2 separate regions of the Homo sapiens genome follow, and region 1 is linked to region 2. Evidence: promoter capture Hi-C in 16 types of primary human blood cells and fetal thymus (Javierre and others, 2016). All regions are on one chromosome and are shown on one strand. Each heading gives the region's core, a stretch centred on a gene start or on the middle of the fragment in contact. The rest is flanking DNA. Distances are from core to core; before and after follow the strand shown. Region 1 holds the start of KRTAP9-3 (keratin associated protein 9-3). Region 2 holds the start of KRT25 (keratin 25).

Region 1 (2,700 bases), core at 21-2,520, 480 kb after region 2:
TGGATTATAACTTGATAGAGTGATTAGCTGTTTGGAAATGAGTAAGCGGATATAATTGGGAGAGAATGGCATTAATTTCTATTTCCTAACCTGGTAATGGGGACATAGATGTATTTACAATGTAATACTATATCAGGTTGGAAATTAATAATTTGCATTCTTCTCAAGTGAATGATATACCTAGACAATGTTTTCAACATGTTAGAACTCCACGATGAATCAGGTGTCATCTCAACTCATCTAATCCCTTCATTGAAAAGAAATAGAAGAAATTACTTCTACTTACTTCTTCTTCTAGTTACTGCTAGTAACTAGGTTTAGGGCTAGAGCCACAGCACATGCTGGTTGGCCTGAATTTCAACGCTTACTTCTAGTTACTGCTAGTAACTAGGTTTAGGGCTAGAGCCAGAGCACATGCTGGTTGGCCTGAATCTCAAGAAGTTACGTGATAGAAAGTCCTCCATTCTCATCCCGGAAATCCCCACACTCCCAGACAAGTCAGAATGAATGGTCGTCCTAGGGCATACATTGCTTGATGCTGTCTAAATCTCAGCAGATTTCTCTGCATCCACCTGTTCTCGATCTGCTCTGTCGCATGGAACACACTGTGCAGTCACCGTCTTCCCAAGTGACATTCAAAGAACTGAAAGACACAGATGATGTGGGTGGCACAAAGAGATGCCTGTTAGTCTTGAGTCAGAATTTGGTGGGTGAATAGTCTTGGGCCCAGGCATGGATTCATTTTGTCACTGTAAATATATCAGCATCATGCTTCTCCCCACAGACACTTCCAAGTCTATATACAGCCAAACATGAGGCTGGCCAGAGAGAACTTCCTGAGCCCCCCGGATCAACAGGAACTGTCACATGACCAGATGATGGTCAGAGCAGGAATGATGCTGATGATGAGACGGGCTTCCTTTTATCTGAAACAAACTTTCTATGAGTAACTCACAATTAAGAAACAGATTAAACCCTTAGTTTAAAAGGTTCATAAGATTTCAGTAACAACTTCCCCTTTGACAATCCCAAATGGACTGTGGAAAACAATGTAAACAGCAACAAGGAAAAGTCCTGCTGATTGGTGGAAACTTTGGAGGCCAGGTGTATAAAAGGTCCAGATTGCAAGGGGTCATCAGATTTTGGGAAACTCACCTCTTAACAGAAGCCCACCCTCCATCCCTGACACCATGACCCACTGTTGCTCCCCTTGCTGTCAGCCTACCTGCTGCAGGACCACCTGCTGGCAGCCCACCACTGTGACCACCTGCAGCAGCACACCCTGCTGTCAGCCCTCCTGCTGTGTTTCCAGCTGCTGCCAGCCTTGCTGCCACCCAACTTGCTGTCAAAACACCTGCTGTAGGACCACCTGCTGCCAGCCCATCTGTGTGACCAGCTGCTGCCAGCCTTCCTGCTGTAGCACACCCTGCTGCCAGCCCACATGCTGTGGGTCCAGCTGTGGTCAGAGCAGCTCCTGTGCACCTGTGTACTGCAGAAGAACCTGCTACCACCCCACAAGTGTTTGTCTGCCTGGTTGCCTAAACCAGAGCTGTGGCTCCAACTGCTGCCAGCCCTGCTGCCGCCCAGCCTGCTGTGAGACCACCTGCTGCAGGACCACTTGTTTCCAGCCCACCTGTGTGTACAGCTGCTGCCAGCCTTCTTGCTGCTAATCAACTCCCAAGAGAACTACCATCCTCACACAACAACCTTCAGCTCAACTGACTTGTCTTTTGAGGGACTAATTTACTTTGCTGCTGACAGCCACCATGCTCTCACCCAAATTTTTATGAATTCTCTACATGTTTAAAATCTTGGGAATCTGCTTGAGGGAGGGCAGAATACTTCATCCTCATTCCCTCTTTCCTTACACCTTGTGGATCATGTGCCAGCTTCGTCTGTTCTTAATTTGGAGTCATGATCTCAGCTTTGTCTCAAAAATCAAGAGCTTCATTCTTTGCTTCTAAGGAATTTAGGTTTCTGCAACTGATCAATCATCTTTGCAATTATATTTTCATTTTAAATATCCTTCTCATGGTTCTTGTATCCTTCTTTCTTCTTTTCACGATAACTTTGGGTTATGTCTCTGGTAGCAGAGATTCTTACCTATATGTTTCTGAATAAACTCTGAACCATCTTCATCTCATATAGTGTTTTGTTTTATTTGAAAGCATTCCTGATATGGGATTTACACACATATCACATACCATAGGTATTATCCAATTTGATTCTCAAAACAGATGGTCGTGTATTATTAACTCCATTTTTTCAGCTGAGAACAATTTAATGTGTGATGTTATGTAGCTAGTAAAGGGCAGACTCTGGTCAAAGGTGAGGTCCTCTCTTTCTGCCCAAGGACACTTACGTTTAACTCCCAATATAGTAGAAAAGACACTGGAAGTCAGCACTAGCAAGACATGTACTTGAGTTTATTTAACAATGAGAGGAATAATCTGACATATTTGCAGATAACACTTTTGTTCACACACAAAAAAATCCCAAAGTAGTTCCCCACACCTCAGTGAGCAAAGGCTGCATGATATGCATTTAATGGCTGCCCTGAATGCAGAGATCTTTTTGTCTGAGCCTCTGACCAGCCATTCATTCAATTCATCTGCATCAAAAAATGCTTGAGAATTTATTGTGGACTCAGGAGACGGAGCCTCATCTGAAGAAACTTATTCTCAGTGTGATGTAAATAAA
Region 2 (2,700 bases), core at 201-2,700:
GTAAGTCATCTCCTCACTCAGGGTTTCATACTGAATCTCCAGATCTGTTCTGCACAGGGTTATTTCATCCAAAACTCTTCGTAACCCATTGACATCAGCCTCTACACTCTGGTGAAGAGCCAGCTCATTTTCATACCTTAAAGAGTGTTAATGATTTCCTAATTTGTCACATGGTTGGAGACATAGTCACTAGTCACTGATCAATGACAAATGCTAGCATTCTGGAATTTTGAAGATTTGGCCACAAGAGGCATTTTCAAAGCTTGTTGTATAATAATTATTGTTTCTACTTTGCAGTATTTGACAGAAAAAGAACTAGGGTATTGGGCGCTAGTTTTAATAGCAGTTCATGCTTTGTATTTAATAGTCAAAGCATAAAAAAGTAATAACATCCTGTTTATGTGAAATTCAAGTGTTTTATAATTTTGGAATAAGAGTTGCTAAATTTGATGTAATGCGTTGCATGAATTGCCATGAATTCATTTCACTCTGGCAGTCTACTTACTTGAGTCTGAAATCATCAGCTGTAAGCCTGGCATTATCGATCTGCAGAACAGCATTAGCATTGCTGGTGGTGGATGCGATGATCTAGAAATGGGAATTTGACTTTTATCATGAAGTAAACCAACTGAATCTACTTAATGCTTATTTCTAATGCTAAATTGGAATTCTCTTTAAGAAATCACAAGTAGGAGGGCATGGTGGCAGGCACCTGTAATCCCAGCTACTTGGGAGGCTGAGGCAGGAGAATCTCTTGAACCCAGGAGGTGGAGGTTGCAGTGAGCCAAGATCCCACGGTTGCACTCCAGCCTGGGCAACAAGAGCAAAACTCCTTCTCAAAAAAAAAAAAAAAAAAAAATCACAAGTAGGAATGATAAATGTTTTTAGAATTTAATAAAGAAAGGAAAACAAAATTTAGAAATAAAGGTACATGAAAATGATTGTGCAGTATGATTTCTTACCTGATTTTTAAGGTCATCAATTATTGGGAAATATCTGCTATAGTCATGATCAAGACCACGGCAAGAGCCAGGCCCAAATTTCTCATACCAGCCCTTGATCTTCTGCTCCAGGTCAGCGTTGGCCTCCTCCAGAGCATGCACACTGTCCAGGTAGGATGCCAGGCGGTCATTGAGGTTCTGCATGGTCACCTTCTCATTGCCAGAAAGGAGCCCCCGCTCATTCACAGTGAAGCCAGCACAGGGATTACCTCCCCCTGTGTTTCCTCCCGATGAGCTGCCTCCGAAGGCACTAGAGAAGCCACTTCCAATCCCTGAAATGCCACAAGAATTTCCAGTACCAAAGCTGGTTCCCCCACCATAGAGTCTGAGTGATCCAGTGGTGGGACGAGGACAGGACCTCCTGGATGCACTGGAAAGTCGAAGAGACATGGTATCAGGGCAAACGCGTTGCAGAGCTGTATTTGTGAAAGCCAGAATGGAGTGCCTTCTTGTCTAAAAGGTTTGGTTTGCCTTTTTATAGGCAAGTCCCAAGTGTGTTCTGAATGAAATTCTGCCTACACAGAGTAAAACATGGCTTGCCAGTCTCAGCAAGTTGGCATAATTGGGTGATTTTTTCTAATTAGTAACTCACTTTGCTGGGCTCATTCCTGTAGGAGGGCAGTTGCCCTCAGGTTGGTGGTTATCTGAGAAATGGGTCTGGGTGGAGCAATGTCAGGTTCATTATTACGTTTTTAAATGCTGAGTGAGTCATTCTTCACTTCCATCCTTGGAAGTAAACCTCATCAGCTCATTACAGGATAGAAATTTAGCATCATGGTTTTGGGCTATTATGCCAAGGCAGATTGTGATGTTTCTGAGGCTTTTTCTGCTTTTATTTTCACAAGTTTTTCCACATAAGTAGAGAATAGAACTGTAATCATTTCCCCAACCTGGTTCTTCAACCAATAGGTTTTTGTTTTTATTTTTAAATTCCTCTTGCCACTCTTTCCCATGGGAAGTTAACTTCCATTCTGGCTGACATGAGCATCATATTCTGTTGACACTTATGACTGAGGAGAGTTGTCTTACCTTATCCATTTTGGTAATTAGGAGCACACCCCTAATTGGTGTTATGTTTTGTGGGAGTTTGGAAAGACATTAACTTATTTCCTGACCCTGCAAAATCTGAAGCAAACCTGGTAGGAACTATTTTTTCTGTCTTAATTTATTGTGGTTTAGCTCAGATGAAAGTCATCAGTAAGGTATTTAGTCGGTGGGAATTCACATATATTTACTGAAAACTCTACCTATTATGGAAATATAAAAAATTGACAAATAAGGCCAGGCACAGTGGCTTACGCCTGTAATCCTAGCACTTTGGGAGGCTGAGGCAGGTGGATCACTTGAGGTCAGGCATTTGAGACCAGCCTCACCAACATGGTGAAACCCCATCTCTACTAAAAATACAAAAATTAGCCAGGCATCATGGCGAGGTGCCTGTAATCCCAGCTACTCGGGAGGCTGAGGCAAGAGAATCAATTGAACCTGGGAGGCAGAGGTTACAGTGAGCTAAGATTGTGTCACTGCACTCCAGCCAGAGTGACAGAATGAGACTCTGCCTCAAAAAAAAAAAAATGAGAAATAAAAATTGTATATATTTATGGTGCACGACATGATTTTTTGATATATGAATATATTGTGTAATGACCAAATCAAGCTAATTAACATATCTATTACCTCACATACCTATTTTGTGGTA

What was found. Contacts are between HindIII fragments. The CHiCAGO score rates a contact against its expected background, and 5 or more counts as called.
Region 1: a contact is called between a fragment that was not itself captured here and the fragment with the promoter of KRT25 in region 2, in 1 of 17 cell types (M1 macrophages). The highest score is 5.8, in M1 macrophages.

What each region holds. Positions count from the first base shown.
Region 1 is chr17:41,231,312-41,234,011 of GRCh38, forward strand. It overlaps KRTAP9-3 (keratin associated protein 9-3), which reads left to right and starts at 1,138. Exons shown (of 1, transcript NM_031962.3): 1 at 1,138-2,143. The coding sequence starts at 1,191. The coding sequence ends at 1,670. The HindIII fragment of the contact is 5,484 bases long and covers 1-2,700 here.
Region 2 is chr17:40,753,881-40,756,580 of GRCh38, forward strand. It overlaps KRT25 (keratin 25), which reads right to left and starts at 1,451. Exons shown (of 8, transcript NM_181534.4): 1 at 963-1,451; 2 at 506-588; 3 at 1-136. The coding sequence starts at 1,391. The HindIII fragment of the contact is 3,727 bases long and covers 261-2,700 here.